Regions from separate parts of the Homo sapiens genome. Here all the other regions are linked to region 1. The links are contacts of gene promoters, found by promoter capture Hi-C in human tissues and cell types (Jung and others, 2019). All regions are on one chromosome and are shown on one strand. Each heading gives the region's core, a stretch centred on a gene start or on the middle of the fragment in contact. The rest is flanking DNA. Distances are from core to core; before and after follow the strand shown.

Region 1 (4,705 bases), core at 648-3,147:
CATTCTAGCCTGGGCAACAGAGTGAGACTCCCATCTTTAACGAAATTTTTTTTGATAGAGTCTCACTCTGTTGTCCAGGCTGGAGTGCAGTGGCACGATCTCCACGCACTGCAACCTCTGCCTCCTGGGTTCACGTAATTCTACTCCAGGCTAATTTTTGTGTTTTTAGTAGAGATGGGATTTTGCCACGTTGGCCAGGCTGGTCTCAAACTCCTGACCTCAGGTGATCCACCCGCCTCAGCCTCCCAAAGTGCTGGGATTACAGGTGTGAGCCACCGCACCCAGCCTCTAACAGATTTTTTTAAAAAAAGAAAAGAGAAGGTCGGGCATGCTGGCTCACGCCTGTAATCCCAGCACTTTGGGAAGCCAAGGCTGGTGGATCACGAGGTCAGGAGTTTGAGATCAGTCTGGCCAACATTGTGAAACCCCCGTCTCTCCAAAAAAAAAAATATATATATATATAAATTAGCCGGGTGTTGTGGGCGCCTGTAATCCTAGCTACTCGGGAGGCTGAGGCAGGAGAATCGAATGAAACCAGGATGCAGAAGTTGCAGTGAGCCGAGATCATGCCATTGCAGTCCAGCCCGGGCCACAATGCAAGACTCCGTCTCAAAAAAAAAAAAAGAAAAAGAAAAAAGAAAAGAGAAACAGTGTAGCAGAGGGAAGGCCAAGTGCAAACGCCAGGAGTCTGAACTTGGAGGGACAGGTTCTTCCACACTTGCAACAGAGGTCTCCTGCCTCCCTGACCGCCCCGCCCCCCGCGCCCCTGTCTGTGTGAGGAAATCAAATCTCAGCTTGCCTAGGGCCCTGTGGCAGGGAGGCCCCAACTTCACCCCATGGGTCTTGGGTCTGCTGAGCTGAGTCAGAGAAAGGTTTATTATCCCCATTTTACAGAGGCTTATTGTCCAAAGGCGAAGCCACTTGCCCAGAGTACATGCGGTGGGCCAGCGACTATGAAAACCCCTGGGGCTGTCCTCTGTTCAGGGATCGCCCAGGCTCCCTGCCCCTGCGCGCTGCTGAGACTGGGTCATTTTCGGTTCTACCAGGCAAGCGGGGGACCCAGCCCCCACTGCTGCTGCCCTCAGCCAAAACCAGGGCTGCGCCACCACCCACCCGGCCTATCTCCCATCTTATCTCCCCAGCTCTGTCGCCTGACCCCTGCACCCCACCAAATCGCAGCCTTTGCCCGGTGCCCTCACCGCCTCGGTTGGCCCCCGCGCGCGCCTCGGGCGAACCCCTGGACTGGCCCTCCAACAGGGCCCCAGACTCGGGGTACCCAGGGTGGCCGCTGAGGCCTGGAGAAATCTGGGCCTCCCCTGTGCACCATCCAACTGCGCGCCCCAGAGGCTCAGGGCGCCCCGGGAGTGTGGGGGTGTGGACAGATGAGCAGAGCCAGAGCATCTCGGGCAGAAGAGGGGACCTGGGAGGGGGCCGGGGAGACAGACAGCGAACAGGGGTGAAGCCGGGGCCGGACGGAGCGCGCAGCGGACAATACTGGGTTCAAAGGGGAGAGATAAGGCGCAGACTAGAAACGCTAGGCTGGACCCGGGCCAGGCGCGCCGCGGGGCAGAGATGGGCGGAGCGGGAACGGGGGCGGGGGCGAGAATGGGGGGGCGGGGACGGGGGCGGGGATGGGGTGCGGGTGCGGGGTCGGGGGCCAGGGAGAGGCCTAGTTGCGTCGAGGGGGGCAAGCGCCTGGAGGACCCGGCGCCCGCTCCAGGCCCTGCCCCTCCAAGTCCCCCGCCCCGCGCCAGGCCCCGCCTCTCCAGGGCCCCAGCCCCGCGCCAGGCCCCACCGTTCCGGGGCGCGTGCCCCGCCCAGGCCCCGCCCCCACGGCCCCGCCCCGGGCTCCCCCCACTCAAGCCTTTTTTCCCCTGCTGGGGGCCGAGGCCCGGCCAGGAGCAGAGTCCGGCTGCCTGGGGCGGGCGGCGCGTGTCTGCAGCTGCTCCGGGTAGCCCGCTAGGCGCGCCGTCCCCAGCCCCGCCGCCGGCCCTCGGTGCGCCCGGCCGCCTGCACCCCCAGGTAAGCGAGCACCCCGCGCCGCGAACACCGCCCCGAACGCCACCCTCACGGCGGTCCCCGGCCCCGCCTCCGCGGCCATGGCGGCCCCAGCCCGGCCCCCACTCGCAGCTGGGCTCCAGCCCCCATCACCCCGCCGGGGACTGTCCCCCTCGGGGCTTCCCATCATGGCCGTCTCCCCGAGCTATCCGCGCTCCCCCACGAGGGCCGGGGCGCAACGGGTGCCCGAGGACGCGGCTGTGAAACGGGCTGGAGCGAGTAGGGGCGATCCTGGCCTCGTGACGCGGGGGAATCCGGATGTGTGAGCCGGGGGAGCGCCCCGTTTCCCCGACGTGCCAGGGCTGGGGACGCAGCTGGGGCCCTGGCCTCGGAGTCCGCAGCCCGGCCGCGTAGACGGCTTCTGAGAACCGCTTAAACACGTCATTCCAAGCCCGAGCTAACCCATCAGGCGGCCGGGGTGAGGTGGAGGTGCCCAGGCGGGGATAATGTCATTTGGCCTGGTTGGACCAGCCAGCGAGGGCTTTTTAGGCCCAGGGCCTAGCCGGGAGTGTGTGCGGAGCAGAAAAGAGGCCAGCCTGGCTGAAACGCGGAGAGGGAGGGTCTGAGGTGGAGAGAGGTTGGCCGGGGCCTGGGAAGCGGCGAGGAGAGTGTGGAACCCGTTCTCGGGGCGGTGGGGACCAGGGAGGCTTGGAACAGCAGGTGCATGGCGTGATCGGATTGTGTCTTAAGAACATCCCGTAGCCGCTGTGGGTAGGAGAGATGGGGATACTTGGAAGGGGGCTTCTGGCTTGACCTGGCTGGAAGGTGTGATAGGAAGTGGGTGAACTGAAAATTCGCTTTGGCAGAGTAACATCGTCTAATTCTGTCTGTTTGCAAGTGGAGCGTGGGGGACCGATGTTTCTCCTGGGTAGTTAGGAGTATATAGAAGAGGCTTTCATTGCTGGGTTGGGAGACTTGAGGAGAAGCTGCTCTGGGGGACACAGGAAGGTGGGCAGGGGGAGAGGCTGTTGTGGTTTGCAAAACCTACCAGATGGGGGAATGCTCCCATCGACTCCAGTCTGAGCTCAGGCAAGGTCTCAGGCATCTGAGCGCAGAGGCCAGGGTGACCCCACTGGGGCGACCTGGGTCTGTTATATGGGGATAGGGTTCCTGGACTGTGGAATTGTCTTTGAAGCCCTCGGCCTCCCCCAGCCTCAAATGGGTCTGCCTTCCAGGAGCAGCTGCTGTGAATAAACACAGAAGTGGAGCTGGGGGACTGATTAGAAGCCTCATTCAGTGCACCTGGGCCCCAGCAGGCCCAGCCAGGCGTGGAGGAAGAGGCATTGAGGACTTTCCTTACCTGTTTTTCCAGCTCACCCACTGCCAGCAGAGGTACTTTGAGCCTGGGGTGTGGGGGGTGGGGGGCGGCCTTGGTCGTTGAACTGGCTGTAGGGCCCCCAGGGAAAGGTTTCTGAGCTTCAGTTTACCCATCTGTAAAATGGGTCAGTAGTATCTGAGCCTGGGAGTGTTCATGGATCGATGAAAGCCGAGGCTAGGCAGATCTCGGTGGCAGCCACACCCCTAAGGAACCGGAGAGGGTTCTAACGCCCGGTGGGAGTTCAGGGGGATGTATGGGCTTCCATTTCTCCTCTGAGAAATTCACAACAGTGTCCACCTCCTGACCCAGGGCTGTCTGCAGGTTGAATAAAGCGGTTGACCCAGTGCGTGGCACAGAATGTCTTGGCTCAGGAGCCACTGGGATGCCTGTAGTTGGCAGCAGAAGTGGGCCCAGGTTCCCTCCTCCCACCCGTGGGATGGCACAGAAAGGCAGGTGCCTTGGGAGCTCGCTGCCCTGTCCCCTTCTCTGAGCACCACAAGCTTCTCCCTTTCCGACTGGCTGGGCTTGAGCCTGACCACCCCCCAGCCCTGTCCTGCCACTTTGAGTTGAGGGCCTCCGGGCTACTGACTTCACCACTTCCTGCTTCAGTTTCTCCACCTGTAAAATGGGATAATAGCAGTCATGACCTATAGGTAAAGAGCTGAACACAGTGCCTGGCTGGTTGTGAATACGTGCTAAACAGGCTATTAAAATATCACGAGAATATCACAGAGCTGGAGGCTATTAAAATATCACGGAGGGGCTGGGCGTGGTGGCTCACGCCTGTAATCCCAGCACTTTGGGAAGCTGAGGCAGGCAGATCACCTAAGGTCAGGAGTTCGAGAGCAGCCTGGCCAACATGGTGAAACCCCATCTCTACTAGAAATACAAAAATTAGCCGGGCGTGGTGGCATGTACCTGTAATCTCAGCTGCATGGGAGACTGAGGCAGGAGAATCTCTTGAACCTGGGAGGCAGAATTTGCAGTGAGCCGAGATCGCGCCACTGCACTCCAGCCTGGGCAACAAAGTGAGACTATCTCCAAAAAAAAAAAAAAAAAAAAAAATTCAGAGTCATGCCTGGGGTCAGGGGGAGTCCAGAGGAGTCACCTGACTCAGCCTAAGGAGGAGTCAGGGAAGGCCTCCTGGAGGAGGTGACAGTTGGCTGGGTCGCTAAGGGTAAGGAGGAGTTAACCAGGCCAAGAGACCAGTGGGCAAATTGCAGAGGAGAGAAACTGCCAGGGTGCTTGGATGAAACAACCACAAAGCCAGGGTTGTAAGATCCAGAAGAGGGGAGAGGAAGAAGGGCAGAGCCAGCCTGCCAGCCTTGA
Region 2 (4,705 bases), core at 1,311-3,810, 390 kb before region 1:
CTCCAGAAGTGTGAGCAATAAATTTCTACTGTTTATAATCCACCCAGCCTATGATGTTTTATTAGAGCAGCCCCAACAGACTAAGAGAGAAAGGTTGTTCCAATTAGCCAGAATATAGGAATGTTTGGTTATGTCTGGTTTGGACAGTGCTCACATTTTGTCTGTGTTCAGACATGCTTACAGAGTGATCTCACTTTTGTCTTGCTATGTACACATTTACAGCTACAAACGTTTTTGCTTGATGTTGATGTTCTGTGAAATTGTTTATATTCAAGAGGACAACATCATAACCTAGGTGGAAGTGCTGGGTAAAGTTCTAGCCATGCCATGATCAGCTGGAAGACCAGACCAGCTCCTAGAACACTCTGGCCACCTAGGAAGCCCAGGGCAGCTCCTAGCAACACCAAAGCCAGCTGTGAGCTTCAGGCCTGCTCTTGACCACTCTTCTCCTCTCAGGATTAAACTAGCTATGTTATGTAGAGCATGTAGAACAATGTCTGATAAATCTTTTTTCGAGATGGAGTCTCACTCACTCTATCACCCAGGCTGTTTGCTCACTGCAACCTCTGACTCCTGGGTTCAAGCAATTCTCCTGCCTCAGCCTCCCCAGTAGCTGAGATTACAGGCATGCATCACCATGCCCAGATAGTTTTTGTATTTTTTATTTTTTTAATGTTTTAGCAAACTTTGTTGTACAGAACAAAAAAAAATACATCATGATTCTGCATGATTTTCTCTCCCACAAAAGCATGGGTGAAAACCAGTAACTTACTTATAAAAATATTTTATTTAGGACTCTAATAAGATAATATGTACATTCATACCTTGTCTCCTGAGTATTTAAATGGGGAAAGGTTCACCTGAAAAAAGTTTTCCCCAGGAAACCCATAGTTTCTTGGCTCAACTGACCCATTAAAAAAGTCCACCTAGAGCCAGGTGCGGTGGCTCACACCTGTAATCCCAGCACTTTGGGAGGCCAAGGCGGGCAGATCACGAGGTCAAGAGATTAAGACCATCCTGGCCAACATGGTGAAACCCCGTCTCTACTAAAAATACAAAAATTAGCTGGGCGTGGTGGCATAAACCTGTAGCCCCAGCTAATCAGGAGGCTGAGGCAGAAGAATCGCTTGAACCCAGGAAGTGGAGATTGTAGTGAGCCAAAATCATGCCACTGCACTCCAGCCTGGTGGCAGAGCAAGACTGTCTCAAAAAAAAAAAAAAAAAAAAAAAAAAAAAAAGTCCACCTAGGCGGGGCTCAGTGGCTCATGCCTGTAATCCCAACACTTTGGAAGGCCAAGGCAGGTGGATCACCTGAGGTCAGGAGTTCAAGACCAGCCTGGCCAACATGGTGAAACCCCATTTCTACTAAAAATGCAACATTTAGCCAGGCATGGTGGCACACACCTGTAATCCCAGCTACTCAGGAGGCAGAGACAGGAGAATTGCTTGAACCCGGAGGCAGAGGTTGCAGTGAGCCGAGATCAAACCATTGCACTTCAGCCTGGGCGACAAGAGCAAAACTCTGTCTCAAAAAAAAAAAAAAAAAAAAAAAAAAAAATCCACCTGTATCAACTTTCTGCCAGTCTGGAGAAGATTTGTTTTCTTTGATCTGACATCATGTGTTCACAAGCTTCCAAAATGTTTGCCAAAATTAAAGTTTGATGGATGGTTTTTGTTTTGACCCATATTCTTCCATTCATTCCAAATACTATCTCCAGGGAATAAAGTTTTCCCACTTCCTGTATGATTCCACAACCTGGAGTTAATAGCTTTCTAACTAAGCCCAAAGTCACTTTAAAAAGCAGACCATCAGGGCCAGGCACGGTGGCTCACGCCTGTAATCCCAGCACTTTGGGAGGCAGAGGCACGCAGATCATCTGAGGTCGGGAGTTCGAGACCAGCCTGACCAACATGGAGAAACCCCGTCTCTACTAAAAATACAAAATTAGCTGGGTGCAGTGGCGCATGCCTGTAATCCCAGTTACTCAGGAGGCTGAGGCAAGATAATTGCTTGAATCTGGGAGGCGGAGGTTGCGGTGAGCCAAGATCACACCATTGCACTCCAGCCTGGGCAACAAGAGCAAAACTTCATCTCAAAAAAAAAAAAAAAAAAAAGCAGACCATCCTGTCCAATGACACCCATTCCATTGGCTCGTCCTCAGCTGTCAATACACACCATCTCTAGTTCCATGTCTTTATTAGCAACCACAAAGTGGCCATAGATGAGATCTCCAACCTACACATATGGTCTGTTTCTTTTAGTTGCACCTTCAAACGCCAAGTAAAACAAAGAAGCTGGCTCACTCCCTCCAACATCAGCTCTGAATGTATCTCCAGATTTAGCTGTCACTATGCCAATCACATGGTCTCCTTTCACTCGAACATACTCATTCCCGGGGCTGCAGCACTTCCAACCCGGCGGTGTCTCAGCTTTCCCAGTCCTCGTTCTTGTGTTTTTTAGTAGAGACAGGGTTTCACCATTTTGGCCAGTCTGGTCTCGAACTCCTGACTTCAAGTGGTCTGCCCACCTCAGCCTCCCAAAGTGCTGGGATTACAGGCATGAGCCACCGGGCCCAGCGTGATAAATCTTAAGTGCTGTAATTACTGAGTATCCATCATTCAAATAGGCAATTTATACCTATTACTAGTGCACTGTATTAAAACTCATAGTAACATGGCCAGGCATGGTGGCTCACACCTGTAATCCCAGCACTGTGGGAGGCCAAAACAGGTGGACCCACCTGAGGTCAGGAGTTCAAGGCCATCCTGGTCAACATGGTGAGACCCCGTCTCTACTAAAAATACAAGAATTAGCCAGGCATAGTGGTGCGTGCCTTTAATCCCAGCTACTCTGGAGGCTGAGGCAGGAGAATCACTTGAACCCGAGAGGCAGATGTTGCCGTGAGCTGAGATCACACCACTGCACTCCAGCCTGGGAGACAGAGCGAGACTCCATCTCAATAAATAAACAAATAATAAAAAATAAATAAAACTCACAATAACAGTGTGAGGCAGTGTAGTTGTCTCATTTCACAGCTGAGGAAACTGAGACTCCCAAAAAGTGAGGCTCAAGGTGTCAGCGTTGTATATGGGTTCAGATAGAGTCTTTTGGCACTGGAATTTACTGGATAGTTTCTGCCTGCCCTCTAAATGACTCTCCTCTGTGTCAGGTGCTTCATCTCTCACCCCACTTTTCAGGAAGGGTGTGTCTCCATCCTGTTCCTTATTCTTCTTCCTGGCTTGGAGAGATGTGATTCTGAGGGGCTGCAATGCATGGGGTTATAAAAACCCACAGTCCAGAGAGGGGATGGAGAGAGAAGGGAGTAGAGAGGAGAAGATGGAGGAAGTGTGCGAGCCCAAGGGGCCAGGCAACCCTGGTGAGGCTGCCCCACCCCTTCCGTGGGATGTTGGTAGTGAAACAGAAAAGGTTCCCTTGTCCCCCTTGCAGGGCGTGTGACGGGGGGTGTGGCTCACATCTTCTGTGCCCCGCTGCTCAAACCTCCAGGGGAAGCATGCAGACAGGCAGGTTGTGGGGCTCCAACCCCATGGCAGCGTCTAGGGGTGAATGCTTTACAGCTCATGAGGGCCCCGTGGGAATGTGTTACAGCGTGCTCTTTCAGTTTTGCCGTCCGCAATTGGCTGATGTTCATCAGCTCAGTTAGATGCTCTGCCTTATTGCAAGGACAGACGACTTTCTCTCTCCCAGGGTTCTTGCCTTAGTGAACTGGAAAAATTGGATCCCATGTGATCCAATTGGGTGATCCGATTGGAGGGTGGGTGAAAGTTTTTTTATGGAGTGGTGGTAGCCCTCAGTGAGGTGCTTTTCTGTTTCACTGTCAACATCCCACAGAAGGGGTGGGGCAGCCTCACCAGGGTTGCCTGGCCCCTTGGGCTCACACACTTCCTCCATCTTCTGAACCCATATACAACGCTGGGAGTGGTGGCTGTAGTCCCAGCTACTTGGGAGGCTGAGGTGGGAGGATCACTTGAGCCCAAGAGTTTGAGGCTGCAGTGAGCTATGATCACACCACTGCACTCCAGCCTGGGTGACAAAGTGAGACCTCGGTCTCTACAAAAGGAAAGAAATAAAAGAAAAAGGGCTGTCTAGCAAAGACATGGAATCAACCCATCAATGATAGACTGGATAAAGAAAATGTGGTACATATATACAATGGAGTACTATGCAGCCATAAAAAAGAACAAGATCATGTCCTTTGCAGGGACATGGATAAAGCTGGAGGCCATTATCCTTAGCAAACTGATGCAGGAACAGAAAACCAAATACCGCATGTTCTCACTTATAAGTGGGAGTTAAATGATGAGAACACATGGACACATAACGGGGAACAACACACACTGGGGCCTATTGCAGGGTGGAGAGTGAGGAGGGAGAGGATCAGGAAAAGTAACTAATAATCTGTACATGTCATATGTTCACCTGTATAACAAATCTGCACATCCCACACATATACCCCTGAACTTAAAGTTTAAAAAAAATCACATCATTACTCTTTAAAAAAAAAAAAAGAAAGAAAGAAAGAAAAAGAAAAAGGGTTGTCACTTCTGCCTTCATCTGCTCCCTCTAACCCTCTGATGGCTGCCCCACCTGCCACCACTTTCCTGAAATGACCAAGGAGAGTAACTACCGTTCCTTTGTGAAAGCCAACCAGACTTGTTTCTATCTTGTTTCCACTCATTAATGGGG
Region 3 (4,705 bases), core at 1,152-3,651, 390 kb after region 1:
CCTAAGCAACCTCCCAGCGTCTTTCCTCTAAGAAGTAGGTGGTCCTTCTGTAATTATCAAGTGTAATCCCCGCTTTGAACCCAATTCTTGTAAGCTTTCCAGATGTGGGACTGGATCGATCAATGGCCACAGGAAAGGACCCTTCCTAGGTCAGCCCCTGAGAGATACCTGTACATATGTAAGAAGCTGGAAGAGTTGTTCTCAAATACATTCTCCCTCAAAGGTCCTCTAGAATCTCTGCCTTCTGCCTTATAGAGGACATTTCTCAGCTAAAAACTCAGACTGTGTCCTCTTGGCCATATCTAAAAATATCACATCAGTCCTGTCGCAATCCCACTTCTGACACCTCTTCAAGATAATGATTTCAGCTCTGCTTTTGTCCTCCTCTCCACAAGGAGGCACTGTGGCATATTTGAGTTGTGCAGAGACCTCAATTCTGCTACCAACTTGCAATATATTTCCCCTCTCTGGGCCTCAGTTTACTCATCTACAAGATGGGCAGCCTAATGCCTGTCTTGCCTATATAAATGGCTATGAGGCACGTGACAGGATAGATAAGAAAGGACTTGCACCAATGCCATTATGGGGTAACAATGACCACCACTATCTCTGGACCAGGCACCAGGCTGAACCCTTTACATATATTAACCAGTTCACATTTAGTAAATAAATCCCCCTTTGCCAAGATGGCCTGAAAGATGTTCCTTCAAAAACTAAAAGGAAGGCTCAATTCAACATATAGCCAGTGCCAGCCCAAGCTTGATATTTTGACAGCTCCTCCCCTCCCCTGCCCCTTTGTAAAATTTAGAGAGTCATGAGAGACCTGGATTTAAATCCCAGCTCTGTCATGGTCTCAAACTGTGGCCTTGGACAAGTCATCCTCCCTATGCTATGGCTCAGTCCCTTCCTCTGTAACGTGGGGGCTAGCAGGATTGTCAGGAGTTTAGATGGTGACACACAGCACATGCTTAGCCCATAGTGAGAGCTCAGTAAATGTCAGACACCATGATCATTGTTAGGATACCTGGGTCACAGCAGATGTTGAGGAGTAGCTTCAGAATTCTTTAGGAATTCCTTAGAGGGTGCTGCAGTTACCAGCTAAGTTAGGATGTTGGGGGGTGTCAAGGGTGGAATGTCAGTGAAATAGAAATTGTTCCAGGGTTTGTCTCTGTCTTGCAGTGGAATGAAGGGAGGGCAATTTGGCAGCTGCTTGCCCTCTGCTTTGCATTAACATGGCATCACAAAAACTCTGATCGTTTGAGTTGTGATAGTGTGAAGAACTGGGGCTGAACCTGGGCCCCTAGGGCTGAGACTGTGAGGAGCTTAGGGGTGCATTTAGGGAATCGAGGCAGGTGGGCAGAGGAGGAGCAGATCCTGGCTGAACCTTGGTGGCTGAAGCAGGAAGCCAGCAGGTCTTCAGCTTCCTGGGGGGAGCTGGGAGTGGAACCTCCTGCCCCCCAATGCCCTTCTCTATGCACGAATGGGGCTTTGGGAATCTAAACCTCAGGAAAGGGTGGGGAGAGGTCAGGAGGCTCAGAGCTCCTCCAGACAGGGAGTCCCTGGAAGGTTCTGTCTAGTTCTTTGCCAAGTAGGAAAGATGGCTCATCCCCAGGGAAATTATTTCCGTCAGGACTGGATGTTTAGTTAAAAACTGCCCCGTGAGAGGTCTTGAGACTTTGATCCTGCTGTAGCCCACAGGGGGTGTGATGTGCCAGACAGAAGCTGGCCCCCCAGCCCAGCCCTCAAATCAGGGGTCTGGAGAAGCAGGTGATCCCATTTTTGTTCCCAAGCACTGTCTGATTGCTTAGGACATTTTGCACACTCCATGCACCTCTGTCCTCCCAGGTCACCATGGGGGCTCACCTCACCCCCCTTCCCGGTTCTCCCACCCCCTCACTTCCCAGGTGGGTGCCCTGGTGGAGTTCCCTCCCCCAGCCCCAGCGGCCCCCTCCCCTCCCAGGAAGGAAAGCAGGAAGACTCTCTCTACCCCGTATTTACACTGACGCGATTTGACTCCATGCTGAAAGCGGCATTGCTCATCTGCATCGTAGGCTTGGCCCGGTGCCACTGTCGGGTACACAAAGTCCTGTCTGGGGGGCCGGTTGTTCAGGCAGAGCCCCAGGCCCGAGCTGCCTCGAGAGAAAAGCAACTGTCATGCTAGGTGGCTGCAAATCAAGAGCTCAGGAGCCTCAGCTGGATGGGGGTCCCAGGGAGCATCCCTGATTTCTATCGTCTCCCGTGTACCCTGCCCCACCATGAGTGTGACCCGCTCTGAGGGACACCCAGGTGCATCCTCACTCTAGAAAGCTGGTGATGTAGTCACGGCTGCAGGATGACCACACGAATGGGTTGGTCTTCATGGTAATGTGGGCAGCCATGAGCTTGGCTGGGTCCTGACCACGGGCCCCACAGCTGTTTCCCACGCCGTCATGGTTCATGCCGAATCTGGGGAAAGGGGTGTCGGCTCTGCCGGGCGCTGAGGGACCCGCCCAGCTCCTCCCCTCCTCCCCCTCTTGTGTGCCCTGGCCTCACGTGTGCCCGATCTCGTGGGCAATGGTGAACGCTGTGGCCAGGCCAATGTCCTCATTGACGCTGCAGCTTCTCTCGCGCTCACACATTCCGCCCACCGGGGCCAGGCCTGGGAAGACGGACATGTGGGGATGGGGCTGGGAGGCTCAGGACGGTGCTGGCTGGCCCCATCCACCTGCCAGGTCTCACCCCAGCCCACTGCCTTCATAGGCGCCTGAAACCTACGGGGCTCGGGTACCTAGTGTGCCGCAGGGTTTGTTCTTGTAGATGCAGATGTCATAGCTGTAAAAGGAGACAGGGTCAGTGAGGGGGCTGGGCTGTCTCCCTAAGCCCTGCTGATGCCACCATGCCCAGCTCTGGGGGTTGAGTCCTGCCTTGGAGGCGCCATCTGCCTCTCACCTGAAGCTGCATACAGGAGTGACTGACCACATGAATGAATGAATGCATGCATGCATGCATGAGTGGGAGAATAAGTGAATGAGGGCATCGGTGCCCAAATGGTCCCAAACCTCCCTTACCCATTATTCTCAAGCAGCCCCTCCCCATCCCTGGCTCCCTCATGGGCAGCCCAAACTTCTCTGCTCCTCCTGACCCTAGCAGAAGTGATCTCTGTTTGGACTCTCATGGTTCCCTGGACCATCTGTTTTCTCAGCCCCAGTCCTAGACCTCTCCTGTCCCCTCACCGTGTGATGAGCACTGCTGTGTCATGGTTAGCCACACCGTTCTCTGGAATGGCATTGCCATGGCCGCTGTGGTTCACGATGGATTTCTGCCACTTACAGAAGCTGTCCAGGGACTTCCCGGCATGGTGGGTGATCTCCAGAGTGGGCTGGGGATGGACAGAGGGAAATGCATGGGCACCCACCACCCAGGGGACGGCAGGACATGCTGGTATGAAGGGGAAGGGGAAGGGGAGGAAGTCCCCCGCACCTGGTCCTCCGTGAGCAGGATGAGGCGAGTTACGAGGATGTTAACGGTGCTTCCCAGACTCGAGTCCTGGAAAAGTTTGGCAACCTGACCTCCAAGAAACAAGAGAGACCGAGTCTTAAGAGGAGCCCAGGGTAGAAAATGAAAAGCAAAAACAATGATAACAGCTTGCTTTCATCAGGCACCTACTGTGTGTCGGGTCTTAGGCTAAACCTGCTATTAGGGTTTTTTGTTGCTGTTGTTGTTAAAGATGGGGGTCTTGGTATGTTGCTCAGGCTGGTCTTGAACTCCTGACCTCAAGTGATCCTCCTGCCTGGCCTCCCATAGGGCTGGGATTACAGGTGTGAGCCACCATGCCCAGCCATGTATCAGTCTTTTCATGAATAGGTAATATTTGCTGTTGTTACTATTTGTTGTTGTTGTTTTTTGAGATGGAGTCTCGCTCTGTTGCCCAGGCTGCAGTGCTGCGGTGCAATCTCAGCTCACTGTAACCTCCACTTCCCAGGTTCAAATGATTCTACTGCTTCAGCCTCCCAAGTAGCTGAGACTATAGGCGCACATCACTATGCCCACTTAATTTTTTTTTTTTTGAGACAGAGTTTTGCTCTTTTTGTCTAGGGTGGAGTACAATGGTGTGATCTCAGCTCACTGCAACCTCCGCCTCCTGGGTTCAAGCGATTCTCCTGCCTCAGCCTCCCGAGTAGCTGGGATTACAGGCGTGAGCCACCGTGCCCAGCCATGCCCGCCTAATTTTTGTATGTTTAGTAGAGACTGGGTTTCACCATGTTGGCCAGGCTGGTCTTGAACTCCTGACCTCAAGCGATCCTCCTGTCCTGGCCTGGCACAGTGCTGGGATCACAGGTGTGAGCCACCATGCCTGGCCATGCATCAGTCTTTTCATCAACAGGTGCTATTATCATCCCCAATTTACAGATGAGGAGACATGCAAACAGAGGTTAGGACACAGCTGGTAGGTGTCAGAAGTGAGACTCAAGTCTGGATTGCTTACCAGAACATTTCTTTCAGACTCCTCCAAGCTCAGCTTATCTACTTGTCCCCCAACCCCTGCTTACCCCCCTGACTGCCTCAAGCATCTTTGTCCAGAGGCGACCTGAGGGATATACATGTCTGAGTTCATTCCACAGCTGTCTGAAGGTACCAATTTGCCCATCACCACAGGAAAGTAAAACTGTGAGGGCAGGAGGCTCTGGAGACAGTGGTCAGAGGAAAGGAGGAAGCAGCCCCAGGG
Region 4 (4,705 bases), core at 2,100-4,599, 280 kb before region 1:
CACACCAGGCCCCCCGCCCTGCCCCTCGGTTCTGCTCGGCTGGCCCTGGCTCTTTCTGAGGATCCCGTCATGGGGGAAGGTCCTTGAGATGATGCTCAGCTGTGGGGCGGGCCTCTAAGATGCCCCATACTTTGGGGGTCTCAGAAATGGAACCCCCGTTGTACAGGGGTTGGGTGGGGGTTGCAGGACTCCACTCACAAGCCTCCTGATGTCAAGGACAGGCGGACAGGGCTGGCCTCCCCCAGTCCCCAAGCCCCACTGTGCCTTGTTGTCTGCTGGGGGGCCATAGCTGGCACTGCCCACCGTAAAGGCCCTCGCACATTTTCCCCCTTCCTGTACACCTCGGGGCCAGCATCCTCACCTTCTTCAACTGACCAGTCGTGGTTACTCCCTGCTGCCAGGTCCTTCCCCTTCCCGGGGGTATTCTGTGACCATGAATAAAGTTATCATTCTCTTTCTCTTTCACCTGTGACTTAAAGATGGAAGTGGGGGCCCTGAAGTGTCAGAGCTTGGGGGTCACAGGGCTGGGGGTGTGTGCCAGGGAGGAGAGCTGCCACCTGACTGGTGTGATGAGGCCTGGGGTGAGGAGCCCCTTGGTGACTGTGAAGCTGACAAGTGTGGATGGGGAGAGCCGGCAGGGCACCTTGGGGACAGGCGTCAGGGATGGGTTTCAGAGTAGGGCAAAATCACATCGCACAGGTGGAGGGGAGAAGGCAGCAGAGAGTGGGGGTGACCCGGTGGAAGGAGTTGAGCCCCAGGCTGGGCGGTTAGAGGAAGATAGATAGGGGTGGGCTGCCCCGAGTGGCAGGAGGCTAGTGGGAGTGGAGTGTCCCCTGGGGTGGCTTTGGGACCTCAAGGATCCCTAGAAGGCGGGGAGGGAGGGGTACTGGAGTCAGGGCTGACCCCAAACCCCTGGGGGTGCTGGGACCCCGCTTGAGGCCCCCTCCATCAGCTTCACCTGCCCTGTGGGTGTGGACCGAGGGTCGGGTCCTAGAGAGGGAAGCAGATGTCCTCCCACGGCACCGCGTCCCACGCCCAGCTAGTAATCCAAGTCGGTAAATTCTCCGTTCTCGGAGCCTGTGCATTCACCCAGCCTGCCTTTTATAGAAACGCTCATTCCTCCCCCCACACACTGCACACGGCTCCCCTGGGGTGCACATCTCTTGGGAGGGCCTTGGAGCACAGCCAGCCCACTCCGTCCGTGGTCACCGCCCCACCGCACCAGACCCACAAACGCTGCCAATGGTGGTGGGCAGGGGGAGGAGGCTTAGGCTGCAGGTACGGTCGGTCGTCGGAGCCTCCCTCCAGGGCTGGCAGAGGGTGCGCCTCCCAGTTCCCCACAGGGCTGAGTCTCTCTCACCACCCCCGGCGCCTCCCCAGATCAACAGAATTGTGTGTGGAGGGGAGGCAGCTGGGGGTTACACATCAGCCCCCCCCCCCAAAGCCGGTGAAAGGTGCTTGTGATCTTGGTGTCTTTGCAGCCCTGGGAAGCTTTAAAAACATGCAAAAGCCAGACCTGGGTTCCACTTCCAGCCCTACCAGACTCTAGCCATGTGACTGTGGGCAAGTCAGTCACTGGAGCTGCCTGGCCCTCGGTCTCCTGGCCTGTAGAATAGGGATGCTAACAGGGCCTGGCTCATTCTCACGATCCCGAAGAGGAGACAGGCTATAAACAGGAGGTGCCAACTCAGCACGCTACTTGGCATGCAGTAAGCGCTCAATAATAGCTTTTATTATCATGTTCGGCTCAGAGGCAGGGAGGAGTGGAACGGCATGGGAGGGCTGCGGGAGGCACGGCAGGGGGGTCAGGGGCAAGTGGCAGGAGGGCGGATGGGGGGCAGCGGTGGGCACCGGGGCAGGGCGCGCTGACCTGTCCTGGGGCCCGGGTTGGGGGCAGAAATGAGCCTGCCCACGCTGTCCCGCCACGGCAGGCGCCACGCATCCTCGACACAGCCGCCATGGCAGGCCTTCGGGCTCCGTCTCCGGGACAGGCGGTGCAGGGCAAATTGGTATGCAGCGTCCGCCCCGTGGGCCCGGGAGAGCCTGCCCCGCAGGGACCAGAGCCCAAGGACGGGCTCAACACTCAGTCAAGGTGGGGTTGACGACGGCCAGACAACAGGGGAGGGAGGAGGGACAAGGGGGTCCCCACTTCCAGGGACGCACAATAGCAGAGCCACTTACACGCTGGGGAGGGGGCGGTGCGGGGGTCCTCCTCCCGCCCGGGATTCAGAGTCGGGGGTGGGGGCCAGCCGGGCGGGTGAGATGCGCAGAGAGGAAGGGACAGGGCGGATAAAGGCACGAGGTGGGGCTCCGGCCAGGCCAGGAAGGGACATGGGAGGGGTCTCGAGGGGGAGGGGCTGGGCTTCTCCCAACTCCCTCCCCCTCTCCCCCGGGCTGGGGGCTCCGGGGCGGGATCCTGAGCGCAGTCCTGGCCCCGCGGCGCCCCCCGCCGGGCCGGCCCTCTGAGACCCCGGCGCAGGGCCGGCTAGGGGGCGCCGCGCCCCTCACACCAACGCGTAGTCGAACTGCCCGCGCTCGAGCGCCTCCTTGTGGTCGGTCCAGGACGAGGCGGGCATGCGGCTGTAGGGGTCGAGCAGGATGCGCACGCAGCGCACCATCAACAGCACCAGCACCACGAGCAGGCAGAGCACGAAGGCGAACACCGTGCGCTGCTCCGCGTCCAGGCCCGCGCCCACCGGGGGCCCCGTCGACGGCGGCAGGGGCTCCGGCGACAGCGTCCACGTCGCGCTCATGGCTCACATCGCCGCGCGCCCTGCGGAGGAGGGGACCCGCCCCGGGCGCCGGGGATGAGGCTGCGCCCTCCCTCCCGCGCCTCCTCCGCTTCGCCCCCTCCTGCCGCCGCCGCCGCCGCCTCCCTTAACGTGCCCGACCCCATCCCCCGCCCGCGCCTCGGTCCCCGGGCTACGCCCATGCCCGGCCCGCCGGATCGCCGCCACCACCACGCGGGGACCCAACTCTGGCCGTGCGCGCAGGTGGGGGCGCTGAGAGCCGGGAAACGGAGCCGCGCCCGGCCTGGGCCGCACACAACAGGTGCGAAAGCGCGGCCGCGGCCCGGGCGCGCGGCGTGGGGACGGTCCCCGCGGCCCCTGCCCCCGCTCCCTTTGTTCTCGGCGGCCTGGGACCCCCTCCCCCACCGCCCCCGCCCCGGCGCGCCCCTCACCCTGGCTTCGACCCGGACGGGGACCGACCGCCCGGCGGCCGCGCTCTCTCAGGGACCCGCGCCGGCTGCGCGTTCGGCCTCTCCCCGGCGGCGGCGGCGGCGGCCCGGGCTCCGGCTCAGCCCACCCCACCCGCCCCTGGAGCGGCGGAGACCGAGGCAGGCAAGCAGCGCGCGAGCCGGGCCGCCGCGGCTGTTCCTATGGCGACGGGGGCGGGGCCGCCGCGGGGGGCGGGGCTGCAGGGGGCGGAGGCTGCGCAGGGAGCGGCGCGCGAGCCAGCGACCCCGCCCGGGCCTGCGGGAGGACGGAACCCCAGCCCCGAGGACCCGCGAGCACCCACGACCTCGCCGGGGAGTGGGCAGCTGCCACTCCCACCTCCCCTGGCACTTCGGGCCCCCCAGCCTGCCCTGTGCCTGCATTCTCCTCCGCGATAGACCCCACTCGAGACTCCCTGTTTGTGGGGGGACCTCAGTGGCCCTAAAACACTCATATGGGCACTCAAGCTCCCCCGGCCCTGGGGACCTCAATTCTCAGAGAGCTCAGGCAGGTCACTGGGATGAGTAAGTCCCCCTAGTTTTGTCTGTCACTGGCCTCGTCTTCCAACTCAGGGTCCAGCCCTGGGCAAGGCGTCCACCCACTGCGGCTGCAGTTCCTCACTCGACCTTGACCGCCTCCCACAGCAGCCGCCTGCTCCCACCCCCACCATCGCCTCGGCCACTCCCGCGCCAGAGAAGACACTTCAGACTCCGTAGCTGCTCTTCTGCAATTCGGTGTTTTATTCTTTCCAAATCTCAGGCTTATGCACAAGATGGAAGAGCACTGTTAAAATTAAAAAATGGACCTAAAGTGGCTTGGCTGACGTGGCTAGCGGGCCACTGAGCCGCGGGTCCCGGGTCCCACCCTGCTGTGGGGGGAGTCCCTGGGCCCTGGGGCCTCTTGGCACTGTGTGACCTGTGTGCACCCCAGGTGACCAGGCGCCGGGACCCCTGCAGGGCAGAGCAACAGGGCAGGGGTTGGCCCTGCGGGGGAGTGTCTCCAGCTGCCGCGCACCCGCAACAGCCCGTTGTCCCCTCCCGGGCCAGCTGGTCTTGCAGCCGTCCTGGCAGAGCTGGGGGCAGAGCCCGCAGTCTTGTTCCCAGAGGTCTGGAGTTGCCGCAGGTGGTGTTGCGGTGCCTCTGTGCCTGATGACCCAGGCCGGGGCTACCTGGCTCCGGCACCACACTCAGAGAATCTGCTCGGTGCTGGAGGCCGAGATGTCCAGGAGCCGCCAGGCCGCGTAGGGGTTGAGCTCGTCCTGGTCTCGGCAGAGCGCCCACACGTACAGCATCCGCAGCACCTTGTCCTGCAGGGTGGGGTGGGAAGGGCACTGTTGAGAGGGTTGAGGTGACCCAGGCAGCTCTGGGGGGGGGCCAGGCTCTGTGGGGCAGGAGCCACCGGCAACTTCCCCAGGGGCTGGGAGCAGAGGCCAGCACAATTGCCTAGACTCAGGAACCACTCAGCCTTGGTAAAAACAGACAGGTCTGCTG
Region 5 (4,705 bases), core at 1,172-3,671, 270 kb after region 1:
CGACTCCTGGGCTCTGCTATCCAGCAGATAGCACCCATGAGGAGCATGCTGACCCATGAGGTCACTTGGGTTAATTCAAACTAGGAATGTTAAGCCCACCATTGGCAGCCAGTCCTTGTTAATTCATAATGTGCTGCTGCTGCCACATCTCTAATGGAATTGCTTATTTTATTGAAAGATAGGGACTCTGGCTGTATAATGCAAGGTGTTCATTACATCGCACCTATCTTACCTGACATTTCTAAGGAGTGAGATGATTAATAACTAGATTCTTCAAGGCCCTCTCAGCATGGGAGGGAGAGATTCTTCAAGGACCTCGCAGCATGAAAAGTGTGATCCCCATTTCAGCCTGCGTGAGATGGATGCACAAGGAAAGAAGTGGCCAGCAGTAGGAATCACGAAAGGCTTATCAAGCAAGTGACCACTGTGGTGGGCCTTTCCCGGCAGAAGCTAGGACCTTTGTTTTAAAAGACATTGTAAGGCTGGGTGTAGTGGCTCACACCTGTTATCCCAACACTTTGGGAGGCTGAGGCAGGAGGATCACTTGAGCTCAGGAGTTCAAGACCAGCCAGGGCAACATAGTGAGACCTCCTCTCTACAAAAAATAAAATTAGCCGGGCATGATGCCGTACACCTGTGCTAGCTGCCTGGGAAACTCAGGTGGGAGGATGACTTGAGCCCAGGAGGTCGAGGCTGCAGTGAAGCATGATCACGCCACTGCATTCCAGCTTGGGAGCTTGGGTTGACAGAGTGAAACCCTGTCTCAAAAAAAAAAAAAAAAAAAAAAAAAAAAAAAAAGAACCTTACAAAATATGAGAAAGTTGTGACCCAAACCCCGTTATGTAGATGCAGCCACTGCAGTTGTCAGCAGAGAGGTCTTTCTGTGCAGACATACGTCTCGCCATGCACACGCATTTCTGTGTTAGGGCACAGGCTTCTGTATTAGAGGATGGGCTTCTGCACTGGATTTGAGTCCCAGCCTTTGCCTCACCTCTCACCAGCATGTGACCTTGGTCAAGTTACTAAATTGTGTGAGCCTCAATTTCTTTTTAAAGTGGTAGTGGTGGTGGAGGGTAACAGGCGTGCGTGGCATGGTTGTGAAGAGTTGATGGAATTATACACAAAGCCTTTGGGGTAGGGCATGTGTTGAGTGCCTAGTAGGTGTTACCTTCTGCAGCCTACGTTTGATTTAGCTGCACTGCAGGGGACCTCTTGGTTACTGTGGTAGCGAATGCTTGGTGTACCCAGTATTGTGGTTTGTGTGGCTGTAATGGAAGTTGTTCATTGGTCCTTGATGGACTTATGTTAGGTAGGTTGTTCAGGGATTCAGTTGCAGTGACTTTGTTTTTTAGGGAATGAAGAATGAATAATGGTTTCCTGCAGAAGAGTTAAACATGCTGACTTGGTGGTGGCTGTCGTGTGTATACATTTTGTTTTGTTTTTGATGTCTCAGACACAGTGGTATTCCTGGAAAGGCCTAGGGTGATTTTTCCACAGAGATGGAGCGTGGCATGGGTGGAGGACTTGAAAGAGACTTTGCCAGGAAGGAGATGGGGATATCTCGAAGCTTTGGAGAGCCTCTTGGCAGAGGAATGAGTAAGAAGGCCCAGTGGGCCTCAGTGGCTGGGGTCCGCCCTCTGGGGTGCAGGCTGCCAGGGTTTACCTGATGTCCCTGCTCTCTTAGAGTCAGCTGGTTTTTTTTAAGCTTTTAAAAAAGATGTTGTTTTAGACCTAGGTAAAAAATTTAGGTCTTTTAGTGTTTTATTGCTATATCAGTAGCATTATTTGTCTTTAAGTCTTTTCAGATGGCTTTTTAAAAAATTGGCATAAGGTTGTGCAGGCTGTGGGAATGGAAACTGCTGCGTGTACTTGACTTTCTGGCCCCCTAGGCCTGGAGAGTGTTTCATGGCCCTCTGGCTCCCTAGGCCTGGAGCGTGTTTCAAAGCCCTGCTAATTGGGGCAGGAGTTTCCTTACCCCAGGGTGCTGTGGTGTCCAGTCCAGTTAGCAGGATGGAGTGAGTTGTGCACTTGCTGATGCCTTTGACAGAGGCATCTAGACCGACTAGAGAGGTTTTCTAAAGTTGGAAGGTCTTGAGTATTTAGGCCTATCCGTATGCAGAGAAATTATTTTTTCAGTTTTGGTTAGGTGGCAGAGCAATTTCCTCCTCTTTTTTCTTTCTTTCTTTTTTTTTTTTTTTTTTTTTTTTCAAGACAGAGTCTCGCTTTGTTGCCCAGGCTGGAGTGCAATGGTGCGATCTCAGCTCACTGCGGCCTCCACCTCCCGGTTTCAAGTGGTTCTCCTGCTTCAGACTCTTGAGTAGCTGGCACTGCCGCCACCACACCCAGCTAATTTTCTTGTATTTTTAATGAGATAGGGTTTCACTGTGTTGGCCAGGCTGGTCTTGAGTCCTGACCTCAAGTGATCCACCTGCCTCTGCCTCCCAAAGTGCTAGGATTACAGGTGTGAGCCATCACGCCAGGTCTGTTGATGTCCATTTTATGTTAGCTGTATTCTTCAAATTTATGAAGGCCCTAGAAAGGTGGTCATTAGATTCATCCTTCAGCTCATCAGAGGGGCAAGATTCTTTTTTAATACAGTCTCTCCCTGTCATCTGGGCTGGAGTACAGTGGGTATGATCTCACTGTAGCAGGCTGAAGCAATCCTCCTACCTTTGCCTCTGAGTGGCTAGGAACACAGGCACATGCCACCATGCCCAGCTAATTTATTTTTTTGTAGAGACAGAGTGTATGTTGCCCAGGCTTATTACAAATTCCTGGGCTCAAGTGATCCTCCCGCCTTGGCCTCCCAAGGTGCTGGGGTTATAGGCAACAGCCACTATGCCTGGCCAGCGGTGTATTTAAAAAAAAAAAAAAAAATTTTTTTTTTTTTTTTTTTTGCGACAGAGTCTCGCTCTATTGCCCAGGCTGGAGTGCAGTGGCACAATCTTGGCTCACTGAAAGCTCTGCCCCTCCAGGTTTAAGCTGTTCTCTGCCTCAGCCTCCAGAGTAGCTGGGATTACAGGCGCGTGCCCCCATGTCCGGCTAATTTTTTGTATTTTTGTAGAGATGGGGTTTCACCATCTTGGCCAGGCTGGTCTTGAACTCGGGACCTCGTGATTCACACGCCTCGGCCTCCCAAAGTGCTGGGATTACAGGCATGAGCCACCGCACCCGGCCAAAGAAATATTTTAAAACTTACTGGCCGGGCGCGGTGGCTCATGCCTGTATTCCCAGCACTTTGGGAGGCCGAGGCTGGTGAATCACGAGGTTAGGAGTTCAAGACCAGCCTGGCCAATGTGGTGAAACCCCGTCTCTACTAAAAATACAAAAATTAGCCGGGCATGGTGGCGGGTGCCTGTAATCCCAGCTACTTGGGAGGCGGAGGTTGCAGTGAGCCGAGGTCAAACCACTGCACTCCAGCCTGGGTGACAGAGTGAGACTCCATCTCAAAAAAAAAAAAAAAAATTAAAACTTACTGTCATTTGCCTGCAAATACTAATTTGTGGATAGCTATGGCAAGAATAGATGGCATGTGGCTGGGCAGGTGGATTACAAGGTTAGGAGTTTGAGACCAGCCTGGCCAACATGGTGAAACCCCGTCTCTACTACAAACACAAAAAATTTAGCCGGGCGTGGTGGTGCATGCTGTAATCCCAGCTATTCAGGTGGCTGAGGCAGAATTGCTTGAACCTGGGAGGTAGAGGTTGCAGTGAGCCGAGATGACACCACTGCACTCTAGCCTGGGCGACAGAGTGAGACTCTGTCTCAAAATTAAAAAAAAAAAAAAGGCATCTTTACTTCTGTAGGAACTTTTTCTTGCTAAGAGCCTTCAGCTTCTTGCCACTCTGCAGCACCTCTCGCCTAATTCCGCTTTTTGGAGTGGCACATGAGTGGCACAGAGAGGTGGATGTGGGCTTCTTGCCTTTGAGGTCACTTCATGTGGCCACAGGAAACTGTTCCTGTCCTGACCGGCAGGGCGCCACCTCTCCCGCTGCGGTTACACCTTCTTTCTGATTGGGACTGTGCGATCTCTGTCCCGGAATTCCCTCCTGCCGCTGTGATCAGACCTACATGAGTAAGGTGATCTCGTCAGGTTCTCAGAGTGGTTGGGTTGGTTTTTCAAGATTCAATTCTTGACCTCTTTCCCGTGTCCTTTGCCATGAGAGGTGAACCATTGTGGTGCTCCTTTCCATAGTGCTTTCCTACTCGGTGCCCCTTCCTGTGCCTAGGCAGTAGATCTTTGCACTCCTTTGTGCAAACAGCTGTACTTGCTGCTTCAAAAATTTGGATAGGCCTGTGGTCTTTGGCCTTCAAGGATGAGGTGTAGCTGAGGCGATACTAAGGGTGGCTTGGGACATCGCCAGAGGTCTGTGCATCCAAGTGGCCTAGTGAGGACGCTGGTGGAGACGTTGGTTGCCAGATGCTGCTCAGGGCATTGGCTCTGCTAGGGGGCTCAGCAGGCTTGGCACAGGCAGCAGGTGTGCGCAGATAGAGCGGCTGGCGGCGGTGGGTGCAGGTCTCTGTGAGGCAGGGGAGGAGCATGGGCAGAACAGGCTCCAGTTGTGGTCTGTGGGGAGGCCTGTGAATGCCGATGGGAGAATTCCGCCATTCTCTGCAAATCAGTGGCATGTTGGTTGAAAGCTTTTGCAGCTGTCTTGCAGGTGTGTTAGTTGGAAGCTTGATCTAGTTCAGGGGTGTGCACGGG
Region 6 (4,705 bases), core at 871-3,370, 270 kb before region 1:
TTCCAAAGTGCTGGGATTACAGGCATGAGCCACTGCACCTGGCCTCACTGGCCAATTTGTATCTTATGCCTGATGCATGCCGGGCACTCTGTAATCTTCCCAAAGTCTGAGAAGCAAGCAGAAGCTGGTGGAAAGAGAAAATGCTGTGTCTGTACCTCCAGGGCCTACATCTATCCTCGTGCCCCTGAAACTGGGGGAAAACGGACAGGTCCCAGGAAATGCCAACCCATGGGGGGAAGAAGGCTAAATGTACAATTTAATCCCTTAGTCTGAAAGTAGGCACTCTAAGCTTCTATGCTAGTGGCAAGCAGTCTTCTCTTGCGAGCCCACCCCATTTCTGCCAGCCTCCAAAGATGAGAGAACTGGATTTTTCAGACACAAACATCGATAATGTGTTGCCCCAGGGACAACTCTGGAATAAACCTACAATGTCCTCCTCAAGGGTTGAGCTATAAACAGAGTAATTTAGGGGAGTCGCTCTGGGCAAAGACTGGGCTGATCTCATGTAAAAGGCACTTGCTGGCTGGGCGCGGTGGCTCACGCCAGTAATCCCAACACGTTGGGAGGCTGAGGTGGGAGGATCACCCGGTCAGGAGTTCGAGATCAGCCTGGCCAACATGGTGAAATCCCGTCTCTACCAAAAATACAAAAATTAGCCGGGCGTGGTGGCACACACCTGTAGTCCCACACACCTGTAGTATTGCTTAAACCCGGGAGGTGGAGGGTGCAGTGAGCCGAGATCTTGCCTTAAGTTCTGTGCAGGCACTGAGCTGGTGGCTCATGCCTGTAATCCCGATACTTTGGGAGGCTGAGGCGGAAGGATCGTTTGAGCTCAGGAGTTTGAGACCAGCCTGGGCAACATAGCTAGACCCTGCCTCCATAAAAAATTGGGGGAAAAAAAAAAAGCTCTGTGCAGGTCCTGTTCAGCTCGGCACCCTGTCACCCAGCACAGAACCTGGCGTGTTGATGTCAAAAGACCAGGTACAACTTCTCCACCATTTCCACATTTCCTGGGCCGTTTTTCTCTCTGTTCTCTGCCTCCTACCTCTGAGAACCCTATGCAACATCCCAAACTTACACAGGTGCCTACTATCTCCTGTATTTACTTGAGGATAACTTTTTTTTTTTTTTTTGAGACGGAGTCTCCCTCTGTTGCCCAGGCTGGAGTAAAGTGGCAGGATCTCGGCTCACTGCAATCTCCGCCTGCCGGGTTCAAGTGATTCTCCTGCCTCAGCCTCCCAAGTAGTTGGGATTACAGGAGCGCGCCACCATGCCCGGCTAATTTTTTTGTATTTTTAGTACAGATGGGGTTTTAGTAGAGATGGGATTTCACCATGTGGGCCAGTGGATCTCGAACTCCTGACCTCAGGTGATCCACCTGAGGCTGAGGCAGGAGAATCGCTTGAACCCGGAGGCAGAAGGAGGCAGAAGTTGCAGTGAGCCGAGATCGCGCCATTGCACTCCAGACTGGGCGACAAGAGCGAAACTCTGTCTCAAAAAAAAAAAAAAAAGAGAAAAAAGAAAAAACGAAGAGCACGAGCAATATGAAGTACTACTTTCTGAGTGCGCCTTACACGTCTTGACTGCCACTGCCCTGTGGACCCAAGAGCCTGCTAGGGCGCGAACCACCTCTCGCACATCCACAATGAACGTTAGAAGAAACGAGACAAGAAATGCTCTCGGTAGAGAACTTGGCATTTAACCGCGAGCTGTGAATTTCACGTTTTTTTGCCTTCCCCTCTACTTTTTTCCACGGGACGCCGCCGCCCCGGCTACCATTCTCTCTCCTGTATACGTGGAGTCTGATCAGAGGGCGAAGGGTGATCAGCTCCCTCCCAGGTCCCGCGCATCGCCGCCCCCTGCCCGGTAAGCTCGGTCCCCGCCCTCAGGCCACGCTCTGTGCCCCCTGTCCTGGCCTCTGCTACCCAAAGATCTAACCCCAAGCTTTCTAAGGAGCCCAAGCAAGGGTCGCGAAGGCCAAGGGTCTGAGAAGAAAGCCTTGGTGGCCGAAGGCCCAGAAGACCCCTAAGCTCGCCCTGCCAGCGCCGCACCGCCGCTCACCCGTGGACAGCGGCACCAGCCACTCCGCAGGGCCGCCGCCGCCATGTTGGAGAATCGTGTGACCTTCTCGCGGCGCGGCCCGGTTGCGTCATCCGCCGCTTCGGCCTAGAGCCGCGCAAGCCTGAGAAAAGCCGCTCCAGGAGCGGGGTTTCGGGTAGGGAGAGCCCTCCGATTGGGTCCGTCATAGGGCGGGGCATTAAAAGGGTAGGGAATGCCTAGAGAGCTTGACCTCTGATAGGGCAGTGTTTTGGAAGGACGGGGCCCGTGACTGGATGTGGCCCGGGGGAGGGCACTCCTGGGAGGGTCAGATCTGTGATTGGGCGCGACTACGAGGGGGCGGAGCCCAGGGGCGTGTATTCCGTCACTTGCGGTGATTCGGCTACAGAACGCGCCGGGCGCTGGTGGCAGGTGGTACAGGCACGTGGATCCACCGACCACAAGGACGGATTCGATTGGATTCTGATTGACCGGCGGACCAGCTCCAGAGTAATTGTCTATGGCTGCCCCTGCAATGACTGATTGATTGACAATGGCTGAGAGACCAGCAAGTGAGTCGCTCCGAGAAAGCGAAGGAGCCCACTCTTGTGCGGCGCTTTGGGAAGACGCCTGTTGGTTTTGACCCCGAATAAGAAGAGGAAGCTGAGAGCGGGCTGACTGTGGTCCAGTCCTACTTCGATTCAGTGTGAACTGACACTCTGATCTGAAGACGCTCAGGCCTTTGTCATTTCAGCACCCCAGATGCTATTTTCCATTCGAAGAATGCCGCCACCAGGTGGCGGTATTTTAACATGGCCATGCAATCCGGGTATGAGGAGGAGGGTTGGTCCCCTGGGAGAGCTAATGTATGTTGCTGTTGCTGTTTGTCTTATTGGATCCTTTTTTTTTTTTATAGAGCCAGAGGCTTGCTCTGTCACCCAGGCTAGAGTGCAGTGTCGTAATCTAGCTCACTGCAGCCTCCAATTCCCAAGCTCAAGCGATCCTCCTGCCTCAGCCTCTGAGTCACTGGGATTACAGGCGTGAGCTACCGCACCCGGTCTTTTTGCATTACTAACCTGTGATATGGGTTTATGGGACTTCATTATTTCAAAGGGAGGCAGCTTGGCCCCGGAGAGCATGCATTCCTGGCTTCTGCGATGGATAGACTTGTGTTCTCCATCTCAGGAGCTCCCCCTCAAGGTGGGGGTAAGAGATGAGGGCTTCCACTCTGGCTTTGTTCGAGATGTCTTGATGCCAAGAGGAGCAAACTAGTTAAGCGGTTGGTGTACACAGGTGTGTTGCTAAGAATAAGGTCTGGGCTAGAAATATGGATTCTTAGTTGTGGTTGAAAGTACGGAGTTTGGCCGGGCGCGGTGGCTCATGCCTATAATCCCAGCACTTTGGGACACTGAGGCGGGAGGATCTCTCCAGCCCAAGAGTTTGAGACCAGCCTGGGCAACATAGTGAAGACCTCTTCTTTACAACAAATACAAAACATTAGCTTGGCGTGGTAGCATGTGCTTGTAGTCCCAGCTACTCAGGAGGCTGAGATGGGAGGATCGTTGAGGCCCGGGAAGTTAAGGCTGTAGTGAGCCGTGATCGTGCCACTACACTACACTACACTACACTACACTACCTGGGCAACAGAGAGAGACCTTGTGTCAAAAAAAAAGAAGAAGAAAGAAAGAGAGAGAGAGAAAGGAAAGAAAGAAAACTACAGCATTGGACACTCAGAGGCAGTGTGTCATATAAGCATGTCAAAGACCCAAAGATAAAGTGGAGATAGAAGACTCCTTTAAGCCAGGATCCGTGGCTCAGTCCTATTATCCCAGCAACTCAGGAGCCTGAGGCAGGAGCATCATTTGAGCCCAGGAGTTACAGACCAGTCTGGGCAACATAACGAGACCCTATCTCTACAAAAATAAAAAAATAAGCCAAGCATGGTGTCTCTCGCCTGGAATTCCAGCTACTTAGGAGGCTGAGGTGGGAGGATCTCTTGAGCCCATTAGTTAGAGGCTGCAGTGAGCTATGATCACCCACTGCACTCCACCCTGGGTGACAGCATGAGACCTCCATCTCTTTTTTTGTTGTTTTGAGACAGAGTCTCACTCTGTCGCCCAGGCTGGAGTGCAGTGGCACGATCTTGGCTCACTGCAAGCTCCGCCTCCCAGGTTCACACCATTCTCCTGCCTTAGCCTCCCGAGTAGCTGGGACTACATGTGCCTGCCACCACACCCAGCTAATTTTTTGTATTTTTAGTAGAGACAGGGTTTCACCATGTTAGCCAGGATGGACTCGATTTCCTGACCTCGTGATCCGCTTGCCTCGGCCTCCCAAAGTGCTGGGATTACAGGCGTGAGCCACCACACCCGGCCTTTTTTTTTTTGAGATGGAGTTTTACTCTTGTTGCGCAGGCTGGAGTGCAATGGCGCGATCTTGGCTCACCGCAGCCTCTGCTTCCCAGGTTCAAGTGATTCTCCTGCCTCAGCCTCCCAAGTAGCTGGGATTACAGGCATGTGCCACCACACCCAGCTAATTTTGTGTTCTTAGTAGAGACGGGGTTTCTCCATATTGGTCAGGCTGGTCTCGAACTCCTGAACCTCAGGTGATCCTCCCACCTCAGCCTCCCAAAATGCTGGGATTACAGGCATGAGCCACCATGCCCCCT

Evidence for each region. Contacts are between HindIII fragments. The study calls those that stand out against the background at their distance.
Region 2: a fragment that was not itself captured here is called in contact with the fragment with the promoter of CERS4 in region 1 in 1 of the 25 tissues and cell types used here (H1 embryonic stem cells).
Region 3: a fragment that was not itself captured here is called in contact with the fragment with the promoter of CERS4 in region 1 in 3 of the 25 tissues and cell types used here (H1 embryonic stem cells, mesenchymal stem cells and spleen).
Region 4: a contact is called between the fragment with the promoter of CTXN1 here and the fragment with the promoter of CERS4 in region 1, in 2 of the 25 tissues and cell types used here (lymphoblastoid cells and thymus).
Region 5: a fragment that was not itself captured here is called in contact with the fragment with the promoter of CERS4 in region 1 in 2 of the 25 tissues and cell types used here (heart right ventricle and spleen).
Region 6: a contact is called between the fragment with the promoter of TIMM44 here and the fragment with the promoter of CERS4 in region 1, in 1 of the 25 tissues and cell types used here (dorsolateral prefrontal cortex).

What each region holds. Positions count from the first base shown.
Region 1 is chr19:8,207,473-8,212,177 of GRCh38, forward strand. CERS4 (ceramide synthase 4) reads left to right here and starts at 1,898. Exons shown (of 12, transcript NM_024552.3): 1 at 1,898-2,022; 2 at 3,234-3,390. RefSeq lists a silencer at 1,579-2,498. The HindIII fragment of the contact is 7,028 bases long and covers 1-4,394 here.
Region 2 is chr19:7,812,042-7,816,746 of GRCh38, forward strand. The region is part of intron 1 of LOC124904628 (a long non-coding RNA gene); the gene reads left to right. It also overlaps the pseudogene EXOSC3P2. Among named protein-coding and RNA genes, the nearest start is that of EVI5L, 16 kb to the right of the region's middle. RefSeq lists an enhancer at 3,574-3,623. The HindIII fragment of the contact is 3,832 bases long and covers 645-4,476 here.
Region 3 is chr19:8,593,775-8,598,479 of GRCh38, forward strand. It overlaps ADAMTS10 (ADAM metallopeptidase with thrombospondin type 1 motif 10), which reads right to left. Exons shown (of 26, transcript NM_030957.4): 7 at 3,460-3,543; 8 at 3,213-3,358; 9 at 2,768-2,811; 10 at 2,533-2,638; 11 at 2,299-2,445; 12 at 1,988-2,129. Among named protein-coding and RNA genes, the nearest start is that of ADAMTS10, 15 kb to the right of the region's middle. The HindIII fragment of the contact is 8,071 bases long and covers 1-4,705 here.
Region 4 is chr19:7,922,786-7,927,490 of GRCh38, forward strand. CTXN1 (cortexin 1) reads right to left here and starts at 3,350. Exons shown (of 2, transcript NM_206833.4): 1 at 3,182-3,350; 2 at 1,706-2,773. The coding sequence starts at 2,753. The coding sequence ends at 2,505. It overlaps TIMM44 (translocase of inner mitochondrial membrane 44), which reads right to left. Exons shown (of 13, transcript NM_006351.4): 13 at 3,933-4,521. The coding sequence ends at 4,402. LOC124904629 (a long non-coding RNA gene) reads left to right here and starts at 2,620. Exons shown (of 2, transcript XR_007067120.1): 1 at 2,620-3,051; 2 at 3,788-4,025. It overlaps SNAPC2 (small nuclear RNA activating complex polypeptide 2), which reads left to right. Exons shown (of 5, transcript NM_003083.4): 5 at 1-465. RefSeq lists silencers at 2,645-2,734, 3,265-3,534 and an enhancer at 4,031-4,705. The HindIII fragment of the contact is 9,564 bases long and covers 1-4,705 here.
Region 5 is chr19:8,476,896-8,481,600 of GRCh38, forward strand. The region is part of intron 12 of HNRNPM (heterogeneous nuclear ribonucleoprotein M); the gene reads left to right. Among named protein-coding and RNA genes, the nearest start is that of PRAM1, 23 kb to the right of the region's middle. The HindIII fragment of the contact is 4,476 bases long and covers 184-4,659 here.
Region 6 is chr19:7,941,546-7,946,250 of GRCh38, forward strand. It overlaps TIMM44 (translocase of inner mitochondrial membrane 44), which reads right to left and starts at 2,121. Exons shown (of 13, transcript NM_006351.4): 1 at 2,062-2,121. The coding sequence starts at 2,106. RefSeq lists enhancers at 1,142-1,685, 1,686-2,228, 1,855-2,224, 2,229-2,772, 2,773-3,315 and a silencer at 2,255-2,324. The HindIII fragment of the contact is 7,251 bases long and covers 1,117-4,705 here.